Linked DNA regions of Homo sapiens: regions 2, 3 and 4 are each linked to region 1. The links are contacts of gene promoters, found by promoter capture Hi-C in human tissues and cell types (Jung and others, 2019). All regions are on one chromosome and are shown on one strand. The core of a region is centred on a gene start or on the middle of the fragment in contact, and the rest is flanking DNA. Distances in the headings are between cores, read along the strand shown. Region 1 holds the start of UGT1A6 (UDP glucuronosyltransferase family 1 member A6). Region 2 overlaps MROH2A (maestro heat like repeat family member 2A). Region 3 has its middle 5.5 kb from the start of UGT1A8. Region 4 overlaps MROH2A (maestro heat like repeat family member 2A).

Evidence for each region. The method cuts DNA at HindIII sites, captures the fragments that hold promoters and counts their contacts. A contact is called where the count stands out against the background at its distance.
Region 2: a contact is called between a fragment that was not itself captured here and the fragment with the promoter of UGT1A6 in region 1, in 2 of the 25 tissues and cell types used here (H1 embryonic stem cells and neural progenitor cells).
Region 3: a contact is called between a fragment that was not itself captured here and the fragment with the promoter of UGT1A6 in region 1, in 6 of the 25 tissues and cell types used here (adrenal gland, liver, mesenchymal stem cells and 3 more).
Region 4: a fragment that was not itself captured here is called in contact with the fragment with the promoter of UGT1A6 in region 1 in 2 of the 25 tissues and cell types used here (liver and small bowel).

The regions. Positions count from the first base shown.
Region 1 is chr2:233,691,165-233,694,228 of GRCh38, reverse strand. UGT1A6 (UDP glucuronosyltransferase family 1 member A6) reads right to left here and starts at 1,339. Exons shown (of 5, transcript NM_001072.4): 1 at 364-1,339. The coding sequence starts at 1,224. The region is part of intron 1 of UGT1A8 (UDP glucuronosyltransferase family 1 member A8); the gene reads right to left. The region is part of intron 1 of UGT1A10 (UDP glucuronosyltransferase family 1 member A10); the gene reads right to left. The region is part of intron 1 of UGT1A9 (UDP glucuronosyltransferase family 1 member A9); the gene reads right to left. It also overlaps UGT1A7 and UGT1A. RefSeq lists enhancers at 1,987-2,593, 2,594-3,064. The HindIII fragment of the contact is 31,227 bases long and covers 1-3,064 here.
Region 2 is chr2:233,799,877-233,803,014 of GRCh38, reverse strand. MROH2A (maestro heat like repeat family member 2A) reads right to left here. Exons shown (of 42, transcript NM_001394639.1): 13 at 3,116-3,138; 14 at 2,700-2,810; 15 at 700-847. Among named protein-coding and RNA genes, the nearest start is that of MROH2A, 23 kb to the right of the region's middle. The HindIII fragment of the contact is 7,942 bases long and covers 1-3,138 here.
Region 3 is chr2:233,610,649-233,613,691 of GRCh38, reverse strand. It overlaps UGT1A. Among named protein-coding and RNA genes, the nearest start is that of UGT1A8, 5.5 kb to the left of the region's middle. The HindIII fragment of the contact is 6,432 bases long and covers 1-3,043 here.
Region 4 is chr2:233,815,765-233,818,730 of GRCh38, reverse strand. MROH2A (maestro heat like repeat family member 2A) reads right to left here. Exons shown (of 42, transcript NM_001394639.1): 27 at 1,846-1,950; 28 at 606-729; 29 at 1-79. Among named protein-coding and RNA genes, the nearest start is that of HJURP, 37 kb to the left of the region's middle. The HindIII fragment of the contact is 4,546 bases long and covers 1-2,966 here.

The DNA of each region.
Region 1 (3,064 bases), core at 90-2,589:
GCATGGGACAGAGTTGGGAAAATGGATTTTAACCTGGACCTGTTCCCTTAGTCAAGCCTTCACCTCTGTTTGAACTGGGACATTTCTAAGGCTCATTCAATGAGTATGTGACTGTCCCAGATTATCCAACTAAGCAAATCTCCTACTCTTGCCAAGCATGAGCCCTGTCTTCATCCGAATGCCTCTGTATCACTTCAGCCTCAGGTCTCCTATGTGTTCCCGCTGCTCCGAGCCGGGTATCACTTCCCCCCACCGTTTCTCCAGGAAATCCTCCAAGGGACAGTCGGCTCAAGGAGCCAAATGAGTGAGGGAGGACAGAGCCTGGAAGAAACAAGGCAGTCCAAAAGAAATAAACCCACCAACCTGAGACAAGTCTTTCCTCTTCTTACAGTTGATACCTCCAATGAAGACCATGTTGGGCATGACCGGCCTAGGATATTCAAGCACAAAGTCATATCTTAACAGCCAAACAGAGACCTTCTGATATAAGGTGATTATATCCACATCTCTCTTGAGGACAGCTGATGCGAGTTCTTCATACTTTGAAAACAGACAATAAAATAGATAGGGCTCCAACAAATTAACAAGGAAGTTGGCCACTCGTTGGGAAAAAGTCATGTGGTCTGAAAACTTTGTGTAGCACCTGGGAATGTAGGACACAGGGTCTGGGCTTCTGCTGAATGTATGCTCCAGGGAACACGGAAAACCCCTGAAGAGGTACACAGATGGTAGGCCCAAATACTCAGCCAGGATCACCCCACAGGGTAAGGCTGGGTCTGTGAAAAGAGCATCAAACTTGCTCTCCTTAAAGAAGTTCAGGGTGTCCCTGTCCTGCAGGAGGCTCTGGCAGTTGATGAAGTACAGGCCAATAACAATCATGTTATTCCTGTACTCTGTCTGAGGAGCAGTTAGGAATGATCGCTCAGCAAAGTGATTGTTTCCAAATGATTGGTAACGGTTCTTCAGCTCTTCTTGGTCATACGGCACTGGATAGATTTTTCTTGTGTAGTATTTGGATTCTTTCAAAAGCAAATTAACTTCAGGCACCACCACTACAATCTCATGACCCCGGTCACTGAGAACCTCAACTATATCCTTCATACTAAGCCAGTGGCTTCCGTCCTGAGGGACCACCAGCAGCTTGTCACCTACAACCATGCCCCAAAGTGCTAAGAAGAAAACCCCTGCAGAAATTCTCTGAAATGAGCGAAGGAGGCAGGCCATCCTGGAAAGAGTTAAAGTAACAACGGTAATAAAGAGTTTTCACTCTCCAAATCACAGGGCTCCTAGGTATTTTCCCTAAACTAACCACTGCTTTTCACAGGTCCTGTCTACCTCTCCCTTGCTCTGAATTTTACCCTTTGATATGTAAGAACCCAAATTAATATTTAACCATTTTAATCACATGGTTAATATGAACCAACTATGGCCGTGTCAGCTTTCACCTGAGCTTCTGGGTGTTTCTCTTCAGCTCCACAAGTCTGCTTCTCCCTCTCTGAAAAGTTATAGCAACACTTTGAAGATGACTTGGAGAGACCCCTGAGGACCCCCTGCCAATTCTCTATCCCGAACTTGCTGGATTCCTCATCATTGACGTTGTCTGTTATGTCCATGATGTGCGGGAATTTTTCTTGCACACGGACCTATTCTCTAACACCAGCTGGGTATCCTACAATTCAATTCCATTCTGAACTGAATTCTGAGTTAGCACGGACCCCACAGGTTAAGGGCTCAGTCCTACAAGACTGCCCTCACTTCAGACACCAATTGCAAGTAGTAGGTCCCCAGGTTACCCACAACTTCTGTCTGACTTGGCAAAAATCAGAGGTTCACACACCCTCTTTCTTGGAGTCAATCATTTGCTAGAATGGCTCACAGAACTGAAGAAAACAGTTTATTTACTAGGTTTGGTTTATTACAAAGGATATTGCAAACAATACGGATGAATAGCCAGAGGAAAAAGTACAAAGAACAAGATATGGGGGTATGGCCATGGAGCCCCATCTGCCATCTCTGGGTGCCCCACCCTCCACACCTTCAGCAACCTGAAAGCTCTCTGAACCCTGCCCTTCTGAGTTTTTATGTAGGCTTCCATACATAGTAGGCATGATTGATTAGATTGTTGCCCATCGGTGATCAAATCAATCTTCAATCTCTCTCTCCTTTCTTCCCTCTAATCGCAAGGGTTTTGTTCCCTGGCAACTAGCCCTCATCCTTAGAGACTTTACATCTCCTTTACATAAACTTAGGTGTGATCGAAAGGGATCTGTTTTGAATAACAAAAGATTCTTTGTTCACGTTTATCGCTCCCACCACTTATGGTTTCAGGAGCTGTGTCCAGGAAACAAAGACAAACATATATTTCTTATTATACATCACAATATAACAACATTCAAACTGTTACTTGCCTTTAGGAAATTAAGATTTGAGAAGTATAAGTCTAGCCAGTACGTGGTGAGAATCCTAGAGCAGGAGTCAGAAAGCCTGGTATCTGCTTCTGGCCCAGCCACCCATCTGCCAGGGGAGTGACTCCTCTCCTGAGCTTCAGGTTTCTCAACTGAGGCCCAGAAAGGGAGGGTCACACTGGCCCTGCCTGCTAACCACACTGCTGAGGGCGGTCCCAGAGCAAGACCTGTGTAGAAACTAGGCTGTCCCAGTGAGAGGTGGTACCTTGAATTACTAGAACAGACTTGCCCAGAGCTAGTCATGCACACCTGGCTGGCACGCGAGTTCCTGTTCCCACCCACAAGTTTGGCACCGGAGGTGTTCTGGGGCCCAGGAAGGGAGAAGAAGCCTGAGCAACATGATTAGAGGGGCCACTCCAAGGACAGGGCTGGCCCCCATGGGGAACATAACCAGGATGCAAATTCATTGTTCAAGGCATGCGAAGACTCAGCTCAGTCCAAGCTGGGAGCAGCCTCCCAAGAGGATTGGCAGCTTACAATGATCAAAGTCATGGGGGCGGCAGCATCTTGCTTTGAGTTCATCTAGATAGCAATAAGACTCCAGGAAGGTTGCAAAGGGAACAGAGCTCAGGTCCACCTTCTTGAGCAGGCAGACATTA
Region 2 (3,138 bases), core at 469-2,968, 110 kb before region 1:
AAGGGCACGGCCAGGCCTGCTGAGAAGATGCCAGTGCAGGGGACCTGGAGAGGACTCAACCAGAGTCAAGAGTGAGAGGGGCATGAGGAAGACCTCAGAGGATTGACTGGCCAGCTTGTTTAGATCAAAGTCAGAGAGCAGGCTCTGCCCTTTGCTAGCCCTGGATCCTAAAGGACCCCATCAATCACCTACATCACCAGCGATGCCCTTGGGGCCAGAGTTGGAGGGAAGGGGACAGGAGCAAGCATGGTAGGTGGGCATAGTTGTTTTGAGAGCCTGGTGTTAACAGTGCCCACTCTGAGTGGACCACAGTGAGGGTAGTCTACAGAGGATGGGATGCCTATAGTTACTCTAGCTGGCTCAGAGAAGCCAGGCAGAGCAGAGGCCCAGTAAGGTCATGCATGGGAAAGGCTGGGCCAGGAGCTCCCAAGGATGGGATCTGGACCAGGGCTGTGGGCTGGGGGGACAGGACATGAGGAGTGAGCTATCCAAAGGAAGTTTACACAATTCTAACATGACCTAGATATGATCAGGTAGGCATTAATATCCAGGTAGGCATTAATAGTATTAATTTGGACTTGGATGTTTCCAGGAGAAGGGGGAATGAGGGTGGGAGGAATGTGGAGAGGGGTGGGCATTCCCAGACAAGGAGCCAGCCCACCTGCCCAATCCAATCAGCTGGACAGGAACTTTGCCCACCTTGCCTGCTCTTGCCAGCCACGCTGACATCCACATCCTGGCCATGGAGCTGGTGTTCTGCCAGGTTTGTGAGGCTGATACAGATAGGAGTCAAAGCTTCCACGTAGTCTGTCTCCATGATGTAGCACAGCAGCCTCACCCAAAACTCCTGGGGTAGGGGTGGGAGAGAAAGGGGCTCAGAATTAGCCCAAGCCCTGGGCTTCTAAGGAGAACAGTCAGGCTCTGCCATGGTGCCATCCCATCCCTGCTTCCCCAGAGATGTCCCCTGACAGTCTCAGCCCTGAACTGGCTCCACCGCCAAATCCAGTCTTTGTCAGGGGCATTTAAGTGTCACCCACCCTGATGTGGCAAGAGAGTCTGCTAGTCCCTGCTGGGGCCAGCATCCCTGTTGCCCAACTCCTATCACTGCCAGCCTCATACAAACCCACACTCATCAAACCCTTCTCATCCAGGGCCCTCCCTCTGATCCCAAGTCCTCTAGAGGGGCACCCCGGGCAGATGATCCAGTTGTGCATGCCTGGTATGACGGTCAGTTTTGTGTGTCAACTTGGCTAGGCGACTGTACCTAGTCATTCAGTCAAACACCAATCTAGGTGTTGTTGTGAAGGTAGCTTGTAGGTGTGACGAAAGTGCATAATCCATAAAAGAGATTATCCTCAATAACATAGGTGGGTGAAACGCCTTAAGAGTGAAACGCTGGGATTTCTCTGAGGAAGAAGATATTCAGCCACAAGGCTGCAGCATCCGCCCCTGCTAGTCTCCAGCCTGCTGGCCTGCCACACAGGTGTCAGACTTGCCAGCCCCCACAACTGCATGAGTCACTTCCTTAAAATAAACCAGGCTATATATGTCTTCTACTGGTTCTGTTTCTCTGGAGAACCCTGACTGATATGGATTCTTGGAGCTGTGTTTCCAACTTCACCCCACCATCTCCTCTCTCCCTGGGTGACCGTTCAACACCCCCGACTAATTATAATCCCTCTCCACCCCACCCCCACCCCTAGGAGTTGAAGGTGAGGCTCTTGTGCTACCAACCATCAAGTGCAATGGCTTAACCTGTTGTAGCCACCAGGACTAGAATCTCCCAGTTCCTGGGCTTCCCCATAAAGACAGCATGGTGAATTCCAAGGGAATTTCAATCCTGGATCTATTGTTTACCAGATATGAGGCCTTGAGCAAATTAATGAATCCCTCTGGGTCTGTTTCTTCATCTACAAAATCAGGATAATAACTACCCTCTATGCAGGTAGTTGCTGGGATAATTAAACAAGATTGCACAGGTTGCACACCTAGTACAGTATACCTGCTATATGTGGGTGCCACATGGACTGTAGCTATGATGATGATGATGATTATTATTATTTCTGCAATTAAAAAAAGCTGTCGCTGGACAGGGATCATCTAGCCTGCAGCCTCAGTGAGTAATCATTCCCTCCTTGATGTTCTCATGGTACATTTTTCCTCTTATTGCTACGTCACATTTTGTTGCAATTAAAAGTTGACACATTTGTTTCTCCCATAGTCTGTGAACTCCTTCCACTCCTTCCCGTCATACTGAGTCCTCCTAGTGCACACTCCTCTGTCCTGTCTTTCACAGAGTTAGAACTCAATGAATGTTTACAAAATTAAACCATGAAAATCATTGGTCTACACACAGACACACACACACACACACACACACACATACACACACACACGGGCCTTAAAGTAATGGACACATTTCAGGTACTTGCTCAAATGATACAGACTGATACTGCCAGCCATGCTGAGGTCGTGCACTGCCCAGCCTCTAGGGGTACAGAGATGAAGAGTAAGTTCTCATCAAGGACCTGGCTTTGGAACTGGGTTTTGAGTAATTCCAGGCAACTGGAAGAGGAAGGCCCCTCAACACTCCAGACAGCAGGAACGGAAGAAGCAAAGATGTGGAATTCTGGGCATGTGTGGTTCACCCCCAGCCTGGCGTGGTGACCCACTGTGCGGGTGGGGCAGGGCCCACTCACGGTGGTCATCCCACTGACAGAAGAGGTAATGATCTTCACAGTGTCCATGGTGACTTTGTGGACCATCCTCTCCTCCAAGTCCCTCTGATAAAACTTCTCCCGGCGATTTGTCTGGAAGAAAGAACCAAGGGATTCCCACCTGTGGCCTAGCAGAGGTTTGTCGTGGTCTCAGGTGTGGTCTCCTCACTCCCCAGGGGCTCCATGCCCAGATACTGAGTCTACAGAATGCTCAGAGCTGTGCATATATCTAGGACCCCACACATTGTCACCTGCAGGTTCACTGTGTCTATGAACTCCTGTCATGAATGGATACGCAGGTTTGAACACAGGTACGCTGAGTGGCATTCTCCCCTCAGCACTGTGGAAACCATTTCCAAGTCCAGCTGCTCTGCGGTCTGCGTATCAGGGCCACTCACCAGTTTGTAGGTGGATAAGGTCA
Region 3 (3,043 bases), core at 308-2,807, 81 kb after region 1:
TCCACGCTCATGGATAGGAAGAATCAATATCGTGAAAATGGTCATACTGTCCAAGGTAATTTATACATTCAATGCTATCCCCATCAAGCTACCATTGAATTTCTTCACAGAATTGGAAAAAAACTACTTTAAAGTTCATATGGAACTAAAAAAGAGCCAGTATAGCCAAGACAATCCTAAGCAAAAAGAACAAAGCTGGAGGCATCACGCTACTTGACTTCAAACTATACTACAAGACTACAGTAACCAAAACAGCATGGTACTTGTACCCAAACAGATATATAGACCAATGGAACAGAACAGAGGCCTCAGAAATTATGCCACACATCTACAACCATCTGACCTTTGACAAACCTGACAAAAACAAGAAATGGGGAAACGATTCCCTATTTAATAAATGGTGTTGGGAAAACTGGCTAGCCATTTGTAGAAAACTGAATCTGGACCCCTTCCTTACACCTTATACAAAAATTAACTCAAGATGGATTAAAGCCTTAAACATAAGACCTAAAACCATGAAAACCCTAGAAGAAAACCTAGGCAATAACCATTCAGGACATAGGCATGGGCAAAGACTTCATAACTAAAACACCAAAAGCAATGGCAACCAAAAGCCAAAATTGACAAATGGGATCTAATTAAACCAAAGAGCTTCTGCACAGCAAAAGAAACTATCATCAGATGGAACAGGCAACTTAAAGAATTGGAGAAAAGTTTTGCAACCTATCCATCTGACAAAGGGCTAATATCCAGAATCTAAAAGGAACTTAAACCAATTTACAAGAAAAAAACAACCCCATCAAAAAGTGCGCAAAGGATATGAACAGACACTTCACAAAAGAAGACATTTATATGACCAGCAAACATATCAAAAACAGCTCATCATCACTGGTCATTAGAGAAATGCAAATCAAATCCACAATGAGATACCATCTCATGCCAGTTAGAATGGCGATCATTAAAACTCAGGAAAGAACAGATGCTGGAGAGGATGTGGAGAAATAGGAACACTTTTACACTGTTGGTAGGAGTGTAAATTAGTTCAACCATTGTGGAACACAGTGTGGCGATTCCTCAAGGATCTAGAACCAGAAATATCATTTGACACAGCAATCCCATTACTGGGTATATACCAAAGGGCTTATAAATTATTCTACTATAAAGACGCATGCACACGTGTGTTTATTGCAACACTATTCGCAACAGCAAGGATGTGGAACCAACTCAAATGCCCATCAATGATAGACTGGATAAAGAAAATGTGGCACATATACAACATGGAATACTATGCAGCCATAAAAAAGGATGAGTTCATGTCCTTTGCAGAAACATGGATGAAGCTGGAAACCATAATTCTCAGCAAACTAACACAGGAACACAAAACCAAACACCGCATGCTCTCACACATAAGTTGGAGTTGAACAATGAGAACGCATGGACACAGGGAGGGGAACATCGCACACCAGGGCCTGTCGGGGGGTGGGGGGGTCTAGGGGAGGGATAGCTTAGGAGAAACACCTAATGTAGATGTCAGGTTGATGGGTGTAGCAAACCACCATGGCACGTGTATACCTGTGTAACAATGTTCTGCACATATATCCCAGAACTTAAAGCATTTAAAAAGAAAGAAAAGTGTAAGAGCAGGAAAAAAAAAATGCATGTGGCACCAGGGCATATGTTTACCTATGTAACAAACCTGAACATCTTCCACATGTACCCCAGAAATAAAAATTAAAATTAAAAAGAAAGTATGTGCCATCTCTCCTGTCTCTCTCTTGCTCCTGCTCTTGCCATGTGACACACCAGCTCCCCATCACCTTCTGTCATGATTGTAAGCTTCCTGAGGCCTCACCAGAAGCAGATGCTAGCACTGTGTTTCGTATAAAGGCTGCAAAACTGTGAGCCAATTAAACCTTTTTTCTTTATAAATTACCCAGCCTCAGGTATCCTTTACAGCAATCCAAACAGACAAATACAGCCTTGCACAAAGAAAATCAACCGTAATATTTGTTGCACTGGACAGAATTATATTCTGCAGGTTTTCTTGATACCTTCATGGACGAGCTAAGCAGTGTGTGTCAGGCAACACCTTAAAGAACATTTAGTGAGAGATTCCACAAACAACCTCGGGGTATAATCCTTGTAGGAGTACAAGATGGCTCCTTTCAGGACACCCTAACTGGTACTAGACATTTGCTTAGTCATCTTTTCTTTTGGTGACTGGGGCACTTGCAGATGACTGTCCTTGAAAAATAAACATGACGGTCAGTGATCTACCTTCCCTGGAGGCTTACTTCAGAATAGAAATCAATGAAATGGAAAATGCGTTTAAAAAATGGCAAAATTAATTAAACCAAAGCTGGTTTGTTGAGAAAATTAATGAAACCAAAGCTGGTTTGTTGAGATCAATTAATTTGGTAAAGCTCTAGCCACCTTGATCTGAAAAAAAAAAGAGAGAAGAAATAAATTATCAATATCAGGAATGAGAGAGGTGGTATCACCATAGATTCTACAGATATTAAAATGCTAAGAGAATATCATGAACAAATTTATGCCCAAAAAATCTACAACTTAGATGAAATGGGCACATTTTGTTAAAGAGACAAACTGCTAGACTATTCACAAGAATAAATACATAACCCCAATAGAACTAACCTGTATCTGTCGAATTGAATTTGTATTTGTAATTCAAACCTTCCCACACGAAACAAAGTGAAGCTCAGATGACATCACTAATGAATCCAGCAAACATTGAAGGAACAAATAATACCAATTATTCACAAACTAGTCCCAAAAACTGAAGCCTAGGGGATTTCCTAATACATTTTATGGGACCAGCATTATCACAGTACCAAAACCAGACAAAGATATTATGAGATAAAAAAATTACAGACCTTCATGGCCTTAGATTCAAAAATTTTAAACAAAATATTATTAAGTCAAATTCTGTAATATTTTAAAATAGTTACTACATAAAAAAAATTATACACCATAACCAAATGGGGTTTATCCTAGGAATGCAAGGCTGGTTTGACATGGTACC
Region 4 (2,966 bases), core at 50-2,549, 120 kb before region 1:
TCTGTGCTCTGGAGGTCCCCCTTACATTTCTCAAGCTCCTTCTGCTTGGAAGGGCCCCACAAGGAGCAGGTCTGGCTTGCTGTCGGGAATACAACTTCAGAAATGACCAGCAGGGACAAAAGGCCCAGCCACCCCCCCTTCGTGGCTACCTCCTGCCCTGGCTTTGCAGGCCTGAGCCACCCTCCAGCATGTGAACGTCCCAGGCGTTCTGACCTTTGCTCTCACTGGTCCTTCCCTGTGGCGGCCTCTGCCCGCACCACCTCTCCGCCCAGCTCAGAGGCCTGCTCTCCCTTGAACTCAGCTCTGGCCAGCTCTGTCACATGCTTGGCATCTGGGAGCTGACTTTCTCCCAGCCAGGCCCTCAGTGCCCAGCACATGCCCTCCATGGGTCAATCTGGGCTAATGAACCTCTCCTTCTGGAAGCTTCCATGGCCTGTTGGTGAACTCTCCCCTCACTGCTCCCTCTGATGGTCACCTGTGTTTGTCTCCATGCCTGCCTGCACAGAGGCCATCCTTCCCTCCAGGGCAGGCCGCAGCCCATACTCCTGGAGTCAGCCCTCTCTCCCTCCCAGAGGAGCTGGTCCTCATGTCCTGCCCTCTCATACCGTGAAGATCTAGCAGGCTGGACAGGACATTCATTGAGGCCATGCGGGTTCTTTGATGGGCATCACAGGTGCACGGGGCAATGAGTCCGACCATTGTGCCAAACTGCCCCAGCTTTAGGTGGATCTGAGGGACAGGAGACCGTGGGGCTCACACCTCTGTGCTCTCATGCACACCTGGGGCTGCCCAGGGGCAGTGTAAAGGACAACTTGATAGGGCAAACCCTGCTCTGAAACACCCATTTGGGGAAGGGGAGGGTGCCACTGTCTGTCCCCTGTCCAAGCATCAGCCTCCCCTGCCCACAGCTGGGCCCCTGGAGGCTGAGCAGCCTGGATCTGTGGGCCCTGGATCAGGACTCCCTCTGACTCAGCTCTGCTCAGTTCACAGCTCTGAACTTGGGCCCAGTTGTTCCTGTAACGAACCCTGGGGATCAAATCAGAGCTTCCTGCTCACTAGCTGAGCAGTCCAGGCAGGGTACTCTGCCTCTCAGTCTCATGTTTCCTGTCTGCACAGTGGAGATGATGATGGCACCTCCTCTTGCAGGGAATGTCATGAGAGCCCAGGTGAAGCCTTCCACACAGCCTCTGGCCTCACATGTTACTGAGTGTTGGACTTGGCCCCTGCCTCATTTTGCTGAGCCTTCATCCCCACCTCCATCCAGGTGCCCAGGACCAGGGTCCTCCTGCCCAGCCCACTTCTCTCCCTGCACCAGACGCCCATCCCTGCGCCCCAGACCCTGACTCCATCATCCTCCTGCCACAGCCATCCTGAGGACAAGACAGTCAAACAGCATGGAGCCAAAAAGTGTAGACAATTAAGTCTCATCAGGCTGTGTCAGATGGTCAATCAGTAAAAACACTACGTCGTTCTAGACATTTTAAGGGTTGCGGTACTTGTCAAGCTTTGCAAAATTTATGATTTTGCAGCACTTGATTTTCTCAAAGTAAATATTCATTTTCCTAGCCAATGTGGGGTTCATAACTATGTATCTTTTTTCTTAAAAAGGGCTCTCACCGCTACAGAAGCCACAGGCCCCACAAAGCCTGGAGCTCTGCCAACCACAATCCCACCCTCTCCCTCCCTGACCCAGCCCAGGGCACTAGGTCACTGCAGCCTCTCCCAAGGGGCCCTCTGGGGACAGAACTTGATTTCATAAGTGTTCCCTCATCTTCCAGATAGACACAGGAATTTTTCTGTGCATGTCAGAGCAGCAGGCTGGGGGCTGGGGACTCCTGGACTCACACAGACAGCAGTGCTGTGGACATAAATCCACATGAGATAGAGATGGAGGCTCACGGCCTTTTCCCGCTCCCATTCTTTCTCCGACAAGATCCACTTTTCCAGGAGCTATGGGTAGAGCCCAGAACACCAAAGTGGGTGTTAAAATCCTGGGGCCAGCCCTTTCCTGGCCAGCTTTTGCCCACCTCACCCTCCTACTCAGATCGACTTTCAATGCTTCCTTGTGGTTCTAGACAGGCCCCATCATGAAGGGAGATGAGGCTGTAGGCAGGGAAAGAGCATCCCCAGCATTCTCACCAGGATGGTGCTTGGCTGTTGCATTTGGCCTGGCTCCAAATGTCTGCCTGTAATGAAGGGCCAGGAGCACAGCCCACCCTGCACTCCAGATGGCCCCAGAGGCCGTTCTGATATAAAAGTTCATTTTAGAGCAAATGACATTACCATAGATAAACAGGGTCATGTCATCACAATAAGGGTCAGTTCATCAACCAGACATAACAATCCTAAATGTTTATGCACCTAATAACATAGCTAAATAATACATGAAGCAAAAAATGAAAGAGCCAAAAGGAGAAATAAACAAGTTCACACTATTAGTCAGAGATTTCAGTGCCTTTTTCTCAATAATTGATAGAACAAAAAGACAGAACATCAAAAAGGAGACAGAAAACCTGAAAAATACTATTAACCAACTTGGCCTAATAGACATTTTGAAACACTACACTTAACAACAGCAGAATATTTTTCAAATACACATGAAATATTTACCAAGATAGATGGTATCTGGGCAACAAAATAAATCTCAGTCAATTTAAAAGGATTTAAAATACGGAATTTAAGTATGTCATCAGAGAACAATGCAGTTAAATTAGGAATCCAAACCAGAAAGATTCTCGGAAACTCCCAAATATTTGAAAATCTCTAAATAACTTTCAGGTCAAAGAAGAAATCATAAGGGAAATTTAAAATGTTTCGAACCGAAATAAAATTAAAACGCAACGTATCAGGATCTGTGAGATGCAGCAAAAAAAAAAAAAAAAAAAGCAAAATCTAAGGACTTACATTATCTGATCCTGATTTCAAGGCTTATTATAATATAACAGTAATCGAGACAGTGCAGTATT